Regions from separate parts of the Homo sapiens genome. Here regions 2, 3, 4 and 5 are each linked to region 1. The links are contacts of gene promoters, found by promoter capture Hi-C in blood cells and fetal thymus (Javierre and others, 2016). All regions are on one chromosome and are shown on one strand. Each heading gives the region's core, a stretch centred on a gene start or on the middle of the fragment in contact. The rest is flanking DNA. Distances are from core to core; before and after follow the strand shown. Region 1 holds the start of SDR9C7 (short chain dehydrogenase/reductase family 9C member 7). Region 2 overlaps NACA (nascent polypeptide associated complex subunit alpha). Region 3 overlaps HSD17B6 (hydroxysteroid 17-beta dehydrogenase 6). Region 4 overlaps HSD17B6 (hydroxysteroid 17-beta dehydrogenase 6). Region 5 has its middle 41 kb from the start of HSD17B6.

Region 1 (3,911 bases), core at 364-2,863:
TTATTCTAGCAGAGGAAACAGACAATAAATAAGTAAAATCTATTGTACATTGACTAGTGATAAGTGCTAAGGAGAAGAATCAAGCAGGGAGTTACTGTCTAGATCCCCCTGGCTCCAGGGCTCTGTTGCCCTGACCTGCGCATGGGCTCCAGACTAGTTCCTTTAGGAGGGAGGACTTCCTCTAGTCTGCTGCTTCTGCAACTCAGCCATCCTGTTCCTCCTGTTCCTGGGCCCACACCCTGTGTGCTGGAAGTGCATGAGGCAGGTCCCCACACAGTCCTGGGCCAGCCCCAGTCCACAGCTTCCTTTCCCAATAGGAGCAGCCACTGTGACATACATACTTGCCCTGAAGTCAAATCAACACCCACCATGATGTCAAGAAGAGACCAGATCTCTTTCTCCCCTGCCTGACATAGTCAAGGAGACAAACTGCACCCACTCATGGGATCCAGCCTCCTGTCTCATTCCCCCTCCCCCATCCTGATCCCAACAAGAAATGTGTTTGTATTTCCCCAGGAGCTGATGGTTAGGACTGCTGAAACATCAGAGAGGCACATCCTTTTTTTTTCTTTTTTTTCTTTTTGAGAGGGATTCTTGCTCTGTCACGAGGCTGGAGTGCAGTGGCGCAATCTTGGCTCACTGCAACCTCCGCCTCCCGGGTTCAAGTGATTCTCCTGCCTCAGCCTCCTGAGTAGCTGGGACTACAGGCACGTGCCACCACACCCAGGTAATTTTTATACTTTTTAGTAGAGATGGGGTTTCACCATGTTGGCCGGGATGGTCTCGATCTCTTGACCTCATGATCCTCCCACTTCGGCCTTCCAAAGTGCTGGGCTCATAGGCGTGAGCCACCACGCCCAGCCAGGCACGTCCATTTTTAGAGGTTTGGACACACAGAACACATCTTCCCCCCTCGCTTCCTATTGAGACCTCTTTCCCGTTTCTCTGAGTTTCCAGGACAGAAAACTTCCTTGGGAAATCACCCCTTCATGTGAACAGGCCAAACCATGCAGTGGCTTCCAATCAGATTGAGGCAGGGGCCTTTCCCTACATCACCCCTCCCACCCAATCTGGACATCAGGGTCTCTGATACTGTCAGATGCTTCGGGAGAGAGGAAGAGGAAGAAGGAGAAACCAAGAAAGCCAAAGAATGTAATTCGCCCCACCTTGTTCGCCCACTTTGTCCCTCACCCACTGGGCCGCCGCCTTGATGCTTTCGCTCTTGGTGACATCCAGTAGGGTGGTCTGCAGCCGATAGGAGGTATCCCGCTGAAGTTTCTGGGATCCCTCCTCAGTGAAGCAAGCAGCCAGCACCTGCATGCCCCGATCAACCAGCTGTTTGGCCAGCAGGTTCCCGAAGCCAGAGTCACAGCCTGTGATGAAGACGTACTTCTCTGAGAGGTTGCCAACCAGATTGCAGTTCTTGAACCAGCGATACATAAATGAGAGGTCTGTGAGGGCCGCCATAGGGCAAGGGGAATGTGATGGCCAAGAGGGACTGGGCTCAGGAGACAGCAGGGAAGAAGCTGGTCCTCTGAGCCCTAGCAGGCAGTCTGCAGGAAACCACCTGGAAGAAGAACTCTCCTTCCTCCCACAGCTTGCAACAAATCTAGGTCCCTGGGTGAGCCACGCTGTAATTTTTATAGGTGGATGCATCACCACAGCAATTAGCCCAGATGCAAGAAATTCAAGTCCAACCTGAAGCCTTGTCACCTCTGACAGCCCTGGTAGCTGCCTCCCTCTCTCCCCCTGCCCTGATGGGTAAAGCTGCCAAGAATTGGAAATAATCCACTTGTAATGTTGGTGATGAGTGGTGGCTCACCCAGGCGGTGTAAGGCAGGCAAATGAAAGATGAGGACTCACCCCAGACAGCTCCCCTAGAAATCCTGTCCCCACCCTGCCCCCAACCCAGCCTGGGGATTTTGGTCTCCAGGGATCAAAATCATTTGTCGTGAGTGCAGGTATGTAAATAAGTTTATTTTCAGGGAAAATACTCAAGACAAATTTATTAATGTAAAACAAACAACATTGGTTCTGTACCTTCCAAACCCCAAGAGAAACAAGTCGCAGGTCATCAGCTCTCTGGAATTCTTAGGTAAGTCTCCATCATGAGAGAGGATGAAAAGCAATGGATTTCTCCTAGGGTGGATGTACCTCCATTGTCCTGAGGCTAGAGGCAGCAGGGCCCTCCTATAGGGGAGGCTGGCATGTGAAGCTTAGCCACCAGAAAGCAGAAAGACCTGGGGGACTCAGGCCTGACACCCTGTGGGGGTCATACTCAGGTCACCAGTAAGCAGCCCTGGGCAAGATGATGAGGAGGGATCATGAGTTCACTGGGCAGCTGAGGGAATTGTCTGGGCAGAGGCCTTGACTGTAAGAGGGGATGAGATATAGGAGGAGCAGAGAACTGGGGCCAGAGACATAGAAAATTCTCAGGGTCGGGACTTGGAGGAGAAACAGAGATTCTAGGCAATTTAGCAAATAATTTACAGAAAGCTAAGAGGTAAGGTGGTAAAGGAAAGGAAATAAGGAAACCAGAGGTGTGAGTAGTGAGGGGCCACACCCAGAATTGCATAAGATGCAGGGAATGATGCTGGAGCCTCTGTGGTTCTTTGGATCAACATCTAGGGTCACCATTCCTTGGGATGAGCCTGGTCCTAGCTCACACCTTCATGGCTTAGCGAGTCTGACACAGAAATGGGACCACAAAGTTCTCTAGTGTGAAGGGACAAAGGATGTATCTCTGTGATCCACCATTTGCCAAGTCTGACCAGCGTGGAATCACATAAAGCAGGTGTCACCCTGGGAAAGCCCCGCAGGGTTTGGCCGTTCCTTAACAAAGTAGGGGAGGGGGCCAGATTATGAACCCACCCCCAAAGAGCAGACCTAAAGCTTATAGGGGATGGAGGTGGGAAATGGTAGAAAGCAAACCACACCTACTTCATAACCAACCTGAGGCAGAGCACCTCCTATGCGGGATCTGGGAACAATCTCCCAGTCTCTGTCTGCCTCCTGGGTGAATGAACAGAGAAGTCTTGGCTGAAACAGGTCAGACCATGTCACTCAAGACTGAGCAGGTCCGGGGCATTGGGTATCCCAGTCCTTGAGGACACAGGTGAGGTCCAGGAGTTGGGTCTGACTTAGCATAAGGATAACTCAGAACTGCCCCAGCACAGGCCTGGGCCTGACTCAGCACCTCCTGGGCCTCTATGCTGGCAGTGTTCCCCTGGCCTCAAACTAAACACACAGTCCATGAGGGTGGGGGGTGTGAGGGAGGTAGGACCACATAGAAGGCTCTTCTTCCCAGGGCTAGAAATGCCTCCCTCTCTCAGATGACAGCATTCCTTGCCAAGCTGGCCCCTAAGGTCTGATAGGTCAGGTTGGTAGCTGCACTCCCCATCCCCACCCCATGCACACAGGTATCTCAGAGGAGAGGAGCCCTCTCCTCTGCCAGGCCATTTCCCTCCAGTGGGAGAGCATAGACTGCTGAGGTCCAAGACACACCCTGATGAGGTAGACAGGAGGAAGAGCAGGTGTGGGCTCACCCACCCCCAGTTGCTCAAGACCTTCCACAAGTGTGGATTCTTCAGGTTGACAGGTGGGCCATGAAGCTCAGAGCCCAAGGAAGTGGGATGCCATTATCTGTGATTGGGTCTCCCTTCCTAAGCAGCAAAATGTGGTTCTTTCCTCCTAATATCACCAGAGTCCTGAATAACGTCCCAGAAAAAAACTAGAACAGAGGTGAGGGAAGTGAGGTACATGACCCTGAACTTGAGAGCTCCCTCCCACCACTCTATTTCTCACCCCATGAAACAGCACCCCTCCCAAGTGCAATGATGTTAAAGTGAGGGCCGGTCACTGAGTGCTACAAAGAGGTCGCTACAAAGTGCTACAAAGAGGCCTGCCAGTGC
Region 2 (3,911 bases), core at 808-3,307, 210 kb before region 1:
TGAGGAGACACACTAACCCCTAAAGGAGATGGGGAATCAGCTAGGTAAGTCAGAGTTCCTTTGGAAGATGCAGTAGCAGAAGCACCAGAGTCCTCAGTTGGGCACTCTTTGGGAGAGGAAGCAACAGGTGCCAATGCTGAAGTATGAGAAATACCATCAACCTTTTTTGTACCTGGAGGAGTCCCAGCTGGGGGAAGAGAGGGTGAGGGCACAGACTTTGGGATTTCAGGGGCCAGCACTAAGGTAGCCAGAGGAGCACAGGTATTCTGGGGGGATGGAGCCACAGGGCAATTTTCTGAAGCTGTAGGAACCAAGGGTAAAGTAGTAAGAGTACCTTCCTTAACTGGGTGGTTTTTAGGAGCTAAAGAGACAGTTCCTTCTAGAAAAGGGCTGGCTGTAGTTGTATAAGTTGAGGTACCTTTGGCAGTTGTGGGAGCCACCCCGGCAGGGTCAGCACTTTCCAAAGGAAATGCAGCCACTGTTGGGGTAATGAGAGAACTTTTGAGAAGCGGACCAGCAGAGTCTGGGCCTGCATAAGAATCTGTCTTGATTACAGAGGCCGAGGAGTTAACACCCAGAGGGGAGGTCATACTGCTGGCTGGCTTACCTATAGGGAGAGGCTCCCCAAGGCTTTTCTTTGCTAGGGTGGCTTCAGGAGAAAGAGGTATCTCTGGAGAAGAGGATGTACTTTGGAAAGAAGGGGAATTTTTAGGGGCTGCCTGGACTAACGGTAATACAGTAGGGTCTTTCTTGGTGGTGAGTCCTGCTTGGGCTGGAGAGAAAGGGGCTCCTTCAAGAGAGGCAGGTACAGTTTGGAGGTCTTTTTGTGTTGGAAATTTAACCAATACTGAACTGGGGAGATTTTTGAGGTCTTCAGGGTCTGGCAGAGGAGGAGAGACTGGTATCCTCAGAGTGGTTGCTACTTGAGTAGAAGGCTCTTTGGGAGCCACAGGTGCCATAACCAAGGCAGCAGGGGAAGTTGGTTCTATGTTACTTATGGGACCTGATGACATTGGAGGAGAAACACAAGTAGCTACCTCAAAGGTAGTAGTAGGTGCTGCAGCAATTGTACAGGGGTTAGTCACCACAAGTGGGGTGGTTCCAACAGAAGAAACGGGCATTTGGGCCACTAAAGGATAATGATAAGTGGCATTAGGAGAGCTTTTGAGAATGAGAGAGGTTGTAGGAGATAATGAAAAAGAGGTAGCTACATTTAAGGAGCCAGAAGGGCTGCAGGTTATGCTAGAGATGGTAGAGGGACCTTTGTCAACAGATGGAGCCACCACTGGAAAGGCAGCCACAGTAGCAGGAACTACCTCATTTCTGGAAGGAAGGGGAGGAATTACAGATCTCTGAGAAGGATAAGAGGCCCCTGTGGAAGAATGATCTACAGAAATGGTCTTCACTGTAGGGTCTGACAAAGCACTAGGACCTGTTTGACCTAAAAGTTGGACAGAACCAAAAGAACTCTGATGTAAAGGTGCAAGATGAGAGCCCAGAGAAATGGGAAAATCTGGGGGGGTGTTGGGACCCGCAGTCTTTTGAGAAGAGGTCACCACAGGAAGAGACTGAGTTGAAAGAGATAAGGCAGCAGGTGGACTAACAGGCCCCTTCAGGCTGAGGCTTCCTGGGTTTTGTGGAGAAATCAGAACTGAGGAAATGGTGGTATCTTTGACTTGAGGGGAAGCGATGGCTAGGGTAGTTGTGGGTGTTGTCTGAGGAAGGGAGGCCACTCCAGATTGAATAGAGGCCATGGGAGTCACACAGTGGTAAGGAACAGTACTGACTATACATGGAGGGCTGGGGGTGCCTTTTGGATTAGGGACTACCTCAGAGGGAACTTTATTAAGATTAGTCTTTGGTTCTGAGGGAGCAATGGGAGCTGACAGAGTTATCACTGACCCTGACTCAGCTACAGCCACTGAAGGAGGTGAAGTAAGAAGGTTAGGTGGAAAAGCAGAACTCTTCTGAACTGAGTGGGGAGCCAGGGCAACCAGAGCTAAGGGAGCTGAAGAGGAAGGGGTCCCTTTCAGAGTTGGAGCTATCATGGGAGAGGCTAGAGCTAAGGCAGCTGGGGAGATGGGAGGCCCTATTAGGTTTGGTAGGAAGGTTGGGGCTTCAGGGGCAGTTCCCAAAGGTAGGGCTGTTCCAGAGGATGACTGGGGAAAAGGAACTTCTAAAGGGGTCGAGGCAATAGTAGAGGGGGAAGGGAATGGGGAAGCCTGGTTAGCAGCTGAGAGAGGGCACTGTTGTGGGGCAGGAGAGCAAGGAGGGGGGAGGGTAGGTCCAGGCTGCCCTAAGGCAGCAGTGACACTCAAGGCTGAAGACATAGGTAGCACAGCTGGAGAAAGGCAAAAGGAGATAAAGAAAGGGGGAGGGGGAGGAGAAAAAAGGTGAGTTATGCAGCCCAACTTGGTACAACATGCCTCCTAGGAAACACTGGAGTTTAAAATCTGACAGTCTAAGTCACCACGCAGGATTAGATAAAGGTGACAGGCAACAACAACCTTCCCCAAACATTTTTCAGTGGTCAAGTGAGAAGACATTCCCCTCCTAATTTCTCACACTTCCCCAAGTTCTACCAAAGTAAACCAACTATTTTAGGGTGAGGAGAACAGTCTAAGAGCAGCCTATCTCTAAATGGGGAGCACAGACTCTTGGTAGGTTGAGAACAACATGCTTTCTATCCTTTCCCAGTTGTGCCCTCCCCTTACTTCTTGAAATGGACTGTATTCCCAAGTCTTTCTCACAGCCAACAGAATTCCCACGAGAAGAACAGCTGTGCTACTCTGTCCACCCAAATATCATGAACAGAAAAGATACTGAAAACTGGAACAAAGAAGTTAGTGAGCAGTGACGATGATGGGGAATCTGAACTGAATAAGAAAACACAGGCTTTTATACTTTCAGGCTTCCACTAGGCTAGGAAACATCTGACTCTGTTAGAATAGTTTTGGGAAGGAGGTGCACAGCACAATTCAGTTCTTCCTAAAGTTGAAACACTTCAGAATTTAATATCAAGTATTAAAGTCACTTAGCTTCTTTATACCTTACCAGTTTACTTACTCACAAAACCCAAACAAGAAAACCAACCACAAAAGGACTGTAATAGTCTCTATAAACCTTCCTAGGTGATGTTAATTCTTCAGACATCAATCCAAGATGAATTAGACATGAATTAGACCTCCAGGCAGAGAGCTTACTCACAAGGGTAGGGACTGTATTATGAAACTGTAACCTAACTTGTTAAACCAGATTGTGGTGCTATTTTGGAAGAAGAGAATTGGAGAGCCTGTAACAGTGGCTCATGCCTGTAATCCCAGCACTTCGGGATGCCTGGGAGGGCGGATCACGAGGTCAGGAGTTCCAGACCGACCTGACCAACATGGTGAAACCCCGTCTCTACTAAAAATACAAAAATTAGCTGGGCGTGGTGGTGTACACCTGTAATACCAGCTACTCAGGAGGCAGAGGCAGGAGAATGGCTTGAACCCAGGAGGTGGAGGTTGCAGTGAGCCAAGATCGCGCTACTGCATGCACTCCAGCCTGGGTGACAGGGTGAGACTCCGTCTCAAAACAAAACAAACCAAAGAAGACAATTGGAGTGGCGAGAATACACTGGATCCCCACTCCTTAACTTGGAATTTAAGTGTTTCATTATGTCAAAATACACCAATGTTTGGCATGACAGTAAGACAGTATCTCTGGCATTCAGGAGGTAACACAGAATTGGATCAACAAATGCTCAATGCTTAGAAGGGAATGTTAAGGGGGGCGGGGGGGAAGCCCGTGGTACCAAAATTCAAATTCAAAATTCACTCAACCAGTAATTCTGAAGTTCTTATGGCATCCTACCATGGAAAAGACAAGGTGGCTCAACTAGTTTTTCCTGGAGAGTGGGTAGGCCAAAG
Region 3 (3,911 bases), core at 1,035-3,534, 160 kb before region 1:
GCGGGGGGGAGGGGGCGCAGCTGAGATAGGATAACATTGATTTGTTGTATAAAAGTTTGTTTTCTGGTCTTTCTCTAGCACCACTTGGCAGCTGGCAGCTAGAGAACATGGATGGTAAAGGCTTTGGGGTGCTAGTGAAGCACCCCTAAAATGGCCAACTATGAGACCTGTGCTGAATAAGGAGGCAAATGAAACTGTGAGAGGATTGCAGTAATAGAGAGAGACTGAGGAAAAGGAAGGCAGAGCAGGAAGAAAGAAGTAGAGGGGAGTGGGGGGAGGGGAAGAGCCCCAAAGATAGGATGGGGCTGTGCAGAGAGGGCAGTTTCAGCTTTTCAAGGTTTTTTTTTTTTTTTTTGAGGCAGAGTCTCACTCTGTCACTTAAGCTGGAGTGCAGTGGCGTGATCTTGGCTTACTGCAACCTCTGCCTCCCAGGTTTAAGCGATTCTTGTGCCTCCGCCTCCCAAGTAGCTGGGACTACAGGCACTGCCACCACACTCAGCTAATTTTTGTATTTTTAGTAGAGATGGGGCTTAGTCATGTTGCCCAGGCTGGTCTCGAACTCCTGACCTCAGGTGATCTGCCTGCCTCAGCTTCCCAAAGTGCTGGGATTACAGGCGTGAGCCACCGTGCCTGGCCTAGCTTTTCAAGATCTTTGTGGGAGAGTAGCTTCAAGCAATGATGAAGCCCAAGATGGGGATCAGACCTGAAATAAACAGTGGAAGTTCTTAACCTATGCATGTGTGATTATGAAGGTGTTTTCTAGGCTCGACCTCAAAACTCATTAAATAAAATTAACCAGATAGCATAGTGTAGATGAGAAAGGAAGAGACTGACAATATGATGTAAGAAAGCTGAATTCTTATTTACCATAGCAGGAAGTTAATTGAGAATGTCAAAAATTGGTAAATCAAGAAATAGCAGCTTAAGTACTGTGTATAAATAATTTGAGTCAAAGGCAAAAACGTAAAGTAATTGCACAGCTTTTGCAGATGAATGGTTTGTAAAAGCAAGCAGGCCACGCCACTTCGGGTATTTGGACATTTGAAATATTCGAGGCACATTCAGGTTTGGCCTAGGGTTTGGGATTCCGCCAGGTGTATCTCTTCTGCAGGTCTTCTTGCTGCTAGGCATGCGATGGCTGAATAGTAATGCCCGGGGAAACTGTGAGGGCCAAGCTTCTCTCTAATGGGGGAAATACGTTTTCATCTTTGACTGGCAACAGAAAATTACCTTTTAGTCAATAAACAGTCAGGTTGAAGCTCTCTGTGTTACTGTAGTGCACCAGGGAATGCCACTTAGGCAGAACAGAGGCAGCTGGCTAGAGAACACAGAGCTCTCAGATTGGAGAGAGGCAAAGGGCTTCAGAGAAGGAAGGAGAGAGACAGAGGGAAGAGGGGAAAAGGAGAGAAAGAGAAGATGGTGGGGGAGGGAGGAGCAATATATGCCTCTCTCCACTGTTTTCTCCCTTTCACTGTCTCCTTCCACTTTACTTGCCTACACCCTAAGTTGCCCTCTCGCTACTTACTGCCTTCTCTCCTCTCCTTCCCAGACCAGGCTTTTGAAAAAGAGTCTCCACTCGGCTCCACTTCCTGCCCTCCAATTCATGCAGCAGCCCACTGAAGATTGGCTTCTGTGCCCTTCACTGTCTGAGTCTTCCCGTTAAGAGCACCAGTGCCCTCCTATTACCCAGCAGACCTCCTGGTTGCATTGCTGATCCTCATTAAGCCCCCCTTTCCTTGGCTTTCATCAGCTTGCTTTTTCCTACTTCTCTGGCTCATTCTCCCTGCTTTTTTTCTCTCAATTTTTTATCAGGATATTTTTACTTAGTATAACTTAATTTATCTAACATTTATTAAGTATCTGCTATGTGCCATTCACTGGGCCAGGTGCAGACTAATATGTAACCTGGGCTCTCAAGGGCCTTATAGTCTAAAAATGGGGAAGAGCAGTGCAATGAAGTACAGCAGGCATCATGATAAACCCAGGCCACAATGGGGACACTAAGGAGGGTATAGTCAATTCTGTTAGACCATGGGGCAGGTTAAATCAGGGCAGGAAAGTCTCTTGCCTGGACCATTTTTTGTCCCCTCTGTCTAGTACTGTATGTAATCTCTCAGTGCTCACCTATGAAACAGTGTGGCAGCCATTGAGGTGCATTGCTCAGATCACTCAAGAAAATCTGCTATGAGGAGTGAGGTTGACTTCCAGCCTCCAGTTGTGGCACCCTCCGATCTGCTGTGGTATTTACACTGAGGCACGCTCCTCTTGGGCACTGGTCAGCCAATGACCAGAAGGATGGCAGTACTGGAGCTGGACCAGTTCAGCCCAGTGTGGAACTTCTCCAGTGGCAGTCTTTGCTCAGGCTCATGGGCCTGGCTGAGACTTTCTTGGGGCTCTACTACAGTCTAAAGCTCTTCCTATCTTCTCCTCCTTCTGTTCCCCTCTCCTTCCCGAGGTGTCAGATCTGCATTACCACCTATTCCTGTGCCTTCCCCCTTTGTCCTCTGAGGGTGTTTCCCCCATAATCTCTTGCATGTCTAATTTTGTCTTGGTATCTGAACTGACACAGAGGAATAATGATGGGACCTGTCTTGTAGGGTTCTTGTGAGAATTCAAAAAGTTAATATATGTGACATCTTAGAACAGAGCCTGATACACAGCAAGTGCTCGGCAAGGGTTGCAATTTTTTTTTTTTTTTTTTTTTTTTGAGATGGGCAGAATCTCGCTCTGTCACCCAGGCTGGAATGCAATGGCATGATCTCGGCTCACTGCAACCTCCACCTCCCGGGTTCAAGCGATTCTCCTGCCTCAGCCTCCCAAGTAGCTGGGATTACAGGCGCCCACAATCATGCCTGGCTAATTTTTGTATTTTTGTAGAGATGCGGTTTCGCCATGTTGACCAGGCTGATCTCAAACTCCTGACCTCAGGTGATCTGCCTGCCTTGGCCTCCCAACATGCTGAGATTACAGGCATGTGCCAGTGTGCCTGGCCTAGCTATTATTTTTTAATTATCCTTTTGATATGGTTTGGCTTTGTGTCGCTACCCAAATCATATCTTGAATTGTAATTCCTAGGTGTTTAGGGAGGAACCTGGTGGGAGGTGATTGGATCATGGGGGTGGTTTCCCCCATGTTGAGTTCTCATGAGAGCTGATGGTTTTATAAGCGTTTGGTAGTTCCTCTCTTGCTTGCTTTTGCTTTCCTGCCATCATGTGTTTGCTTCCCCTTCTACCATGATTGTAATTTTCCTGAGACCTCCCCAGCCATGTGGAACTGTGAATCAATTAAACCTCTTTTCTTTATAAATTACCCAGTCTCGGGTGGTATCTTTATAGCTGTGTGAAAACGGACTAGTACACCTGTAGATCTCAACTTATATTTTATTCTCTCTAGGAAGCTTCTCAGACCTCTCTAAACTGCCTTAGAAGCCTCTCCTGAGTGTTCCAGCAGCCTCCTGTTTTTACTTCTGTTATAATGCATTGTTGTCAGTCTTCATAATGAGACTGTGAATTCAATGAAAAATGGACTATGTATTGTTCACTCTTGTGTATCAGTGCCTAACACTGTGTCTGACTCAAGTAGTTGTTGAATTAATGTTTGCTGAATGAAAGTGATGATTAGGCTGAGACTTAAAAGATGAGTGTTATGGCTGGGTGTGGTGGCTCATGCCTGTAATCCCAGCATTTTGGGAGGCCAAGGTGGGTGGATCACCTGAGGTCAGGAGTTCACGACTAGCCTGGCCAACATGGTAAAAAACTCTCTCCCTACTAAAAATACAAAATTAGCCCGGCTTGGTGGCACGTGCCTGTAATCCCAGCTACTCGGGAGGCTGAGGCAAGGAGAATCACTTGAACCCAGGAGGCGGAGGTTGCAGTGAGCTGAGATTGCGCCATTGCACTCCAGCCTGGGCA
Region 4 (3,911 bases), core at 536-3,035, 150 kb before region 1:
TTTGTCAATTTCCTATAAGAATATTATTCTGAAGACCTGGAGGAGGAGGTAGCAGCAGCGGTGAAAAATGGGAATGACTTCTAATAGGTACAGGGTTTCTTTTTGGGATGATGAAAATGTTCTAAATGTAGATTGTGATGATGATTGCACAACTCTGAATATACTAAAAATTATTGATTTGTACACTTTAAATGGCTGAATTTTATGATATATGAATATCTCAATAATGTTAAAAAAATTTCCAGTTGAAAAAGTATATTCCCATATCTGTGTTGTTCTAAACCTATTTAAAAATCCTCTAGTAACAGAATTAAGTTGTGTGTTTTTTTTTTTTTTTTTTGAGACAGAGTCTCGCTCTGTCACCCAGGCTGGAGTGCAGTGGCGTGATCTTGGCTCACTGCAACCTCTGCCTCCCGGGTTCAAGCAATTCTCTTGTCTCAGCTTCCTGAGTAACTGGGACTACAGGCATGCACCACCAAGCCTGGCTAATTTTTGTATTTTTAGTAGACATGGGGTTTCACCATGTTGGCCATGCCGGTCTCGAACTCCTGACCCCAAATTATCCACCCACCTCGGCCTCCCAAAGTGCTGGGATTACAGGCATGAGCCACTGCACCCAGCCATCAGAATTGAGTTTTGAGGCCAGGCGTGGTGCCTCACACCTATAATTCCAGCACTTTGGGAGGCTGATGTGGGAGGATCGCTTGAGCCCAGGAATTCAAGACCAGCCTGGGCAACATAGTGAGACCTTGTGTCTACAAAAAATAAACAAAATTAGCTGGGCATGGGGATGCGAACCTGTAGTCCCAGCTATGTGGGAAGCTGAGGAGGGAGGATCACGAGCCTGGGAGGCAGAGGTTGCAGTGAGCTGAGATTGTACCACTACACTCCAACCTGGGTGACAGAGCAAGACCCTGTCTCAAAAGAAACCCCAAAAAACAACCAAACAAAAAAAGAAAAATGATTGAGTTTTAAAATTAAAATTAAATAAAATCCAAAATTTAGTTTTTATTCCAGTGCATTAGCTATTGTTTAAGTGCTCAATAGCTACATGTGGCTAGTGGCTATCATATTGGGATGCACATTCTAGATCATTCTATTTTGTAGAAATTAGATGTGGTGAGACTTCTGTGACTGCATGATCTTAAAAATATAAGGAATAAGATTGTTGACCACCATTTCTTTTTTTGTATACAGTTTACAATATCATGAAGGAAGGGCTGTTGAATTGTAGCACAAACCTGAACCTGGTCACTGACTGCATGGAACATGCTCTGACATCGGTGCATCCGCGAACTCGATATTCAGCTGGCTGGGATGCTAAATTTTTCTTCATCCCTCTATCTTATTTACCTACATCACTGGCAGACTACATTTTGACTAGATCTTGGCCCAAACCAGCCCAGGCAGTCTAAAGAAAACTGGGTTGGTGCTTCTTGGAATGAAGGCAAAAATCTGAAATTGTTAGTGTCTCAGTAATCCTGATTTAGAACCCAGGCTTTTTGTAACAATGTGTTTTCTTGCCTAAATTCATTTATCTGGCATCATCAGAGTACTAACATGTTTATATTTCAGATATCCAAAGCTTACCACTTTAGGTGATGAATCTTTACTATTTTAGCCCTTTTTTGATGAGACTATTTGTCTAAAGTGAATCATTTGTTCTTGCCTTATTAAACAGAGTAGATGGAAAACAATTTAACCTATTTTGAAGTCATTTCTTTATGAATATGAATAATTGTTCTATGCTTTAATAATCTATTGTGAGGAAACTACTAAGAAATATGTTGGTGTGTTTGTCCTTACTTGAAATGGGTCTGTATTATGGTACTTTTAATAAATATTTGATTTTTCTTTCTCTTCTCTTTTTGTCAGCAGTCTTTTTTCCCCAATATATTTCTTCCTTTTTTAAAAAGAAATTACTTTTTAAATTTTAAATCAAAATAATGTTATACATATATAGCTAAAAATTCAATTAATATTCAAAAGCTTAAAATGAAAAATGGCAATCCTTGCCCTTATCCTCATCCTTCATTGCTGCTCGTCAGAGGCAAATGGTCTCAACTTTTAGCTATTTCTTCTGGTATTTATCTCTGAACTTCTAAATGATATACTGTTATTTTTTATTAATTTTAGCTATTCTCAATTGACTTTCTGTTATGGTGCAAATTTGGCTTTTTTTTACATCACTTTCCTGCCCATTTCCTTTATCCTTATAGTTTGAATATAATTTTATCACATTTCTGGTTAAATGAATAGTGTTTATATAATTAAGTATGTGAATATTATTAACTATTTAATCAAGTATTTTTCTTTTATAGTAACATTTTTTGTTTTTCTTGGAGTTAATTATTGCCTTGCTTTTTTGCTTGCAAAGGTTTTTATTTACCTTAACCTTTTTTTGGTTGTTCTCTCAGATCTGTCACTACCAGTAGTGTTCTCTAAATAATTAAATAGATTATAGACTTATTCAGTCTATTTCAACCCCCCAACCCTCCTGTCCCTGGAGATTTCCCTCTCACTGCTTTCTTTTTTTTTTTTTTTTCTAATTGATCATTCTTGGGTGTTTCTCGCAGATGGGGATTTGGCAGGGTCATAGGACAATAGTGGAGGGAAGGTCAGCAGATAAACAAGTGAACAAAGGTCTCTGGTTTTCCTAGGCAGAGGACCCTGCGGCCTTCTGCAGTGTTTGTGTCCCTGGGTACTTGAGATTAGGGAGTGGTGATGACTCTTAACGAGCATGCTGCCTTCAAGCATCTGTTTAACAAAGCACATCTTGCACCGCCCTTAATCCATTTAACCCTGAGTGGACACAGCACATGTTTCAGAGAGCACAGGGTTGGGGGTAAGGTCATAGATCAACAGGATCCCAAGGCAGAAGAATTTTTCTTAGTACAGAACAAAATGAAAAGTCTCCCATGTCTACTTCTTTCTACACAGACACGGCAACCATCCGATTTCTCAATCTTTTCCCCACCTTTCCCCCTTTTCTATTCCACAAAACCGCCATCGTCATCATGGCCCGTTCTCAATGAGCTGTTGGGTACACCTCCCAGACGGGGTGGTGGCCGGGCAGAGGGGCTCCTCACTTCCCAGTAGGGGCGGCCGGGCAGAGGCGCCCCTCACCTCCCGGACGGGGCGGCCGGGCGGGGGGCTGACCCCCCCACCTCCCTCCTGGACGGGGCGGCTGGCCAGGCGGGGGCCTGAGCCCCCCACCTCCCTCCCGGACGGGGCGGCTGGCCGGGCAGGGGGCTGAGCCCCCCACCTCCCTCCCGGACGGGGCGGCTGGCCGGGCAGAGGGGCTCCTCACTTCCCAGTAGGGGCGGCTGGGCAGAGGTGCCCCTCACCTCCCGGATGGGGCAGCTGGCCGGGCGGGGAGCTGAGCCCCCCACCTCCCTCCCGGATGGGGCGGCCAGCCGGGCGGGGGGCTGAACCCCCCCCACCTCCCTCCCGGACAGGACGGCTGGCCGGGCGGGGGGCTGACCCCCCCACCTCCCTCCCGGACGGGGCGGCTGGACGGGCGGGGGGCTGAGCCCTCCTCCTCCCTCCCGGACGGGGCGGCTGGCCGGGCGGGGGGGGGCTGACCCCCCCCACCTCCCTCCCGGACGGGACGGCTGGCCGGGCGGGGGGCTGACCCCCCTCACCTCCCTCCCGGAGGGGACGGCTGGCCGGGCAGAGGGGCTCCTCACTTCCCAGTAGGGGCGGCCGGGCAGAGGCACCCCTCACCTCCCGGACGGGGCGGCTGGCCGGGCGGAGGCGCCCCCCCCACCTCCCTCCCGGACGGGGCGGCAGGCCGGGCGGGGGCTGACCCCCCACCTCCCTCCTGGATGGGGTGGCTGCCGGGCGGAGATGCTCCTCACTTCCCAGACGGGGTGGCTGCTGGGCGGAGGGGCTCCTCACTTCTCAGACGG
Region 5 (3,911 bases), core at 499-2,998, 130 kb before region 1:
AGAAATCTTCACACCTCGGCCTCCCAAAGCACTGGCATTACAGGTGTGAGCTACTCTGCCTGGCCTGGTGTCGACTTCTTAATTCCATCCCCTTTCCTTGGTTCAGGCATTTAGATGCTGCCCATGGTTGCATTCTTGGTTCACCTGGGCACACTCAGTTTATATAACTTGCAACCTGGGGTCAATAGCAATTGAAAAACAACACATTATTTTATTATACAAAGTGGAACCAGATTGCGCTAATTTTGAGGGTAATGGATATTGCTGGGAAGTTTCTTGTGGCCAAACACTGTTTTAAAGAATTTTTTTCAAGCTGATTATTAACAGGAAGACCTTTTAATCCTGCCAACTGATCTAAGTAAAGTGTAGAATGTTTGGAGGGCATCGGCATTACGAAAGACCTTAGTCCTTGGGAAGAAATGAATAAATGTGTCAATAAAATTTTAACCTAGATACAAGATCTTGTACCTAGTAGTTATTCAATAAATATTTGCTGAATGAAGCAAACACAGAAAATATAAAATTATGTGAAGTGTAAAGTCTGTTTTTCTGATGCTTTGTGAGGGAGAGATTATTTTTAAAATGTATTTATTTATTTTTAACTTTTTAAAAATTAAACTTTTTTTCTTTTCTTTTTTTTGAGACAGGGTCTCATCTTGTCACCCAGACTGGAGTGCAGTGGTGTAGTCTCAGCTCAGTGCTCACTGTAGCCTTGACCTCCCAGGTTCAAGCAATCCCCCTGCTTCAGCCCCCAAAGTTGTTGGAACTACAGGCACACACCACCACACCCGGCAACTTTTTGTATTTTTTGTAGAGATGGGGTTTCACCATGTTACCTAGGCTGGCCCCAAATTCCTGGGCTCAAGCAATTAACTTGCCTGGACCTCCCAAAATGCTAGGATTACAGGCATGAGCTACCATGCCCAGCTTACTTTTAACTTTTATTTTAGTTCAGGCTGGGGTACATGTGCAGGTTTGTTAATACAGGCAAACGCATGTCATGGGTGTTTGGTGTACAGACCATTTTGTTACCCAAGTACACTAAGCATAGTACCTGATAGCTATTTTTCCTGATTCTCTTTCTTCCTCCCTCCTGCGTCCCTCAAGCAGGCCCCAGTGTCTGTTATTCCCCTCTTTGTGCCCATGTGTTCTCATTATTTAGCTCCCACTTATATGTGAGAACATGCAGTATTTGGTTTTCTGTTCCTGTGTTAGTTTGCTAGGGATAATGACTTCCAGCTTCATTCATGTTCCTGCAAAGGACATCATCTCGTTCTTTTTTACAGCTGCATAGAATTTCATGGTGTATATGTACCACATTTTCTTTATCCAGTCCACCATTGATGGGTATTTAGGTGGAATCCATGTCTTTGCTATTGTGAGTAGTGCTGCAGTGAACATTAATGTGCATGTGTCTTTATGGTGGAATGATTTATATTCCTCTGGGTATATACCCAGTAATGAGATTGCTGGGTTGAATGGTAGTTCTGAATTCAGTTCTTTGAGGAATTGCCTTACTGTTTTCCACGATGGTTGAGCTAATTTACATTCCAACCAGCAGTGTATAAGCATTCCTTTTTCTTGGCAACCTCGCCAGCATCTGGTATTTTTTGACTTTTTAATAATAGTCATTCTGACTGGTGTGAGATGGTATCTCATTGTATTATGGGATCTTTGGGGTGTTGTTTTTCTAGCCAGGAACCTCTGTGGCTGGTGGCCCCTGTGCCCGAGTTTTGCTCGGGCCCACTGGGCTTGTTTCACCTACTCAGCCTGGCAGGCTGTGTTTGGCTCACCCTACTGGCCTGGGACCCATGCCTGCCAAGGGTGAGTCAGGCATGGAACAGTGAGGAGTGTGTGAGTGAGTGTGGGATCCGGCCACTGTGCACAGTCAGACGTACCAGCTGCCGCAGTGGGCCGGGCAGCTCCAGGTGCTGGCATGGGCTCTGGCTCTCTGTGAGGCTGCAGCTAGACCAGGCACACTGCAAGCAGCTTCTACGGCTGGCACTGGAGGACACATTGGCACCCAGAAGCTCGGAGATGCCAGGAACCACAGGGCCCCAAAATAGGAGTCACAGCCCTGGTCTGGGGAACTCCCAGGTCTGGGTTCCCCAAAGGGCTGCAGCTCTTCTTTTCTTCTCTTTGCCCACAATGAGGCAAGCAAGGGGCATGTCTCAGCCCTGTTTGTGTTACAGCTCTTTTATCCTTGCCATTCAGTGGGTCCTGAGTTCTTGTCCTGTGACCAGGAAGAATGAGGTAGGCAGAAAAGAGGAGAGTGAGTAAGATGAAGGGGAGCTTTATTGAGTGATAGAACAGCTCAGAGGAAACCTGCAGGGGGCAGCTACTTTCTGCAGCCAGGGTGTCTTGATGAGTGTTCAGCTCCTAGCAGAGAGGGTAGCTCCTCTCTGCTAGGCAATTCATCCTGACAAGTGTTCAGGTATCAGCAGAGAGAGTAGCTTTTGTCTGCAGGCAGGTCATCCCAACATCTGCTCAGCTCTGGCTGAACCCAGGGCTTTTATGGGCCTCAGAGGGGAGGAGGTGAGCACTGATTGTTCCATGGGCAGCCATGGATGGGCCTGGAAAAGACACCACAAGTTTCCACTGCAGTCTATGGGAGCAGCAGCCTGGCCCCCAGCCTTCAGGCCCTCCCTGGCCTGAAGGTGGGGCCTCACGTGGGACCCACTCCCTTCCCCCCAGGAACCTGTCTGCCTCCTGCTGCCATTCATGGCACCCAGGCTGTACGTGCCAAGGGGCACCTGCAGGCCAGTGCCAAACTGCCCTTATCACCCCCTCAGCTTCCCTCCTGTGCTCTTTGGCACCCAAGGTCCAGAGGCGGGCTGAAGTGGCAGGGGGCTGGTGTGTCAACACTTCCCTGAGCATGTACACACCTGGCTGGGCTGTGACAGAGCTCAGGCTTGACCATGACTTTGCTCTTAGATCGGAGTGGGTACCGACAGCAGGGAGAAGCCAGGCGGCAGGAGCAGGCACTTCCAAGCCTGTGAGGGCAGGGGGAGAGGACCATCCTGGGTCTCCAAGAGTGCAGGGATGCCTGGGTTCACAGCCACAGTTTGGGTGTCTGCAGCTGCATCCAGGGGGTGGGGGTCCTGCTCTGTGGAGTGGGAGGTCATGCTCTGCAGTCACGACTTGGGTGGCTGCAGCCACGCCTAGGAGGACAGGGCTCCTCCCTGCTCCCAGCACCCCCAAGAGCACAGGGAGGCCTGGGTCTGCAGCCATGACTTGGGCAGCTTAACCTGTGCCCCAGGGGGTGGGGCTTCTTCTTGCTCTGTGCTTTGGGAGGCCCAGTTTGCAGCCATAACTTGGGCAGACTTGTGTCTGCACCTGGGGAGCTCCCACCCTAACAAATCAGAAGGGGCAGGGCTCCCACTTGTCTGAGGCTCCCACCAGCTGCATGGAGTATACAGCTCTGGCTGTACCTCCCTGCTGCAGCCTGTGTGATGGCAGCGGCCACTCTAGATGGCCCACCACTGCCATCAATCACCACTCTGTAGAGGTACATCTAACTGCCGTTAGGATAGGGACAGTGACCATTCTTAACTGCTTCATGCTGACAGGGGGCATTGTTTTTGGGAAAATGGCAGTCAGGTTTTCTCTCAGGGGCCTATATAAGGGTCTCCAGTAAAAGGGAGCCATTGTCCGAGGCTCCATTTGCATGACCATTGGAGTTTGACGGCCCATCCTTTTTGTTTCTTCTGAGCTGCAGTCAGAGATCACTGGTTGGTTCACCCTCACAACTGTCAAAAGCTACAAATATCTCAAAAGGAAAGCTTCCTTGATTCTGAAAAACAAAACGAAGGATCATCAATGGTTCAAGCAAAATGTCAAAAAAGATTACTTCAGTCTTCTGTTAGTTCCGTTCACTCAAAGAAACTCCTGTTCACAATCTCCAAAATTAT

What was found. The method cuts DNA at HindIII sites, captures the fragments that hold promoters and counts their contacts. A CHiCAGO score of 5 or more calls a contact.
Region 2: a fragment that was not itself captured here is called in contact with the fragment with the promoter of SDR9C7 in region 1 in 1 of 17 cell types (M1 macrophages); the score reaches 5.1 in M1 macrophages.
Region 3: a contact is called between a fragment that was not itself captured here and the fragment with the promoter of SDR9C7 in region 1, in 9 of 17 cell types (erythroblasts, M2 macrophages, M1 macrophages and 6 more). The highest score is 9.3, in erythroblasts.
Region 4: a contact is called between a fragment that was not itself captured here and the fragment with the promoter of SDR9C7 in region 1, in 4 of 17 cell types (endothelial precursors, total CD8 T cells, M2 macrophages and 1 more). The highest score is 7.6, in endothelial precursors.
Region 5: a fragment that was not itself captured here is called in contact with the fragment with the promoter of SDR9C7 in region 1 in 10 of 17 cell types (M1 macrophages, endothelial precursors, total B cells and 7 more); the score reaches 8.0 in M1 macrophages.

The regions. Positions count from the first base shown.
Region 1 is chr12:56,932,795-56,936,705 of GRCh38, forward strand. It overlaps SDR9C7 (short chain dehydrogenase/reductase family 9C member 7), which reads right to left and starts at 1,614. Exons shown (of 4, transcript NM_148897.3): 1 at 1,167-1,614. The coding sequence starts at 1,467. The HindIII fragment of the contact is 2,217 bases long and covers 1-2,213 here.
Region 2 is chr12:56,719,119-56,723,029 of GRCh38, forward strand. NACA (nascent polypeptide associated complex subunit alpha) reads right to left here. Exons shown (of 9, transcript NM_001365896.1): 3 at 1-2,341. Among named protein-coding and RNA genes, the nearest start is that of NACA, 4.2 kb to the right of the region's middle. RefSeq lists an enhancer at 1,698-1,817. The HindIII fragment of the contact is 4,291 bases long and covers 1-3,911 here.
Region 3 is chr12:56,768,766-56,772,676 of GRCh38, forward strand. The region is part of intron 1 of HSD17B6 (hydroxysteroid 17-beta dehydrogenase 6); the gene reads left to right. Among named protein-coding and RNA genes, the nearest start is that of HSD17B6, 7.4 kb to the left of the region's middle. The HindIII fragment of the contact is 2,222 bases long and covers 1,174-3,395 here.
Region 4 is chr12:56,785,928-56,789,838 of GRCh38, forward strand. It overlaps HSD17B6 (hydroxysteroid 17-beta dehydrogenase 6), which reads left to right. Exons shown (of 5, transcript NM_003725.4): 5 at 1,198-1,863. The coding sequence ends at 1,415. Among named protein-coding and RNA genes, the nearest start is that of HSD17B6, 25 kb to the left of the region's middle. The HindIII fragment of the contact is 404 bases long and covers 1,584-1,987 here.
Region 5 is chr12:56,802,048-56,805,958 of GRCh38, forward strand. No RefSeq gene overlaps it. Among named protein-coding and RNA genes, the nearest start is that of HSD17B6, 41 kb to the left of the region's middle. RefSeq lists an enhancer at 2,623-3,272. The HindIII fragment of the contact is 4,063 bases long and covers 1-3,780 here.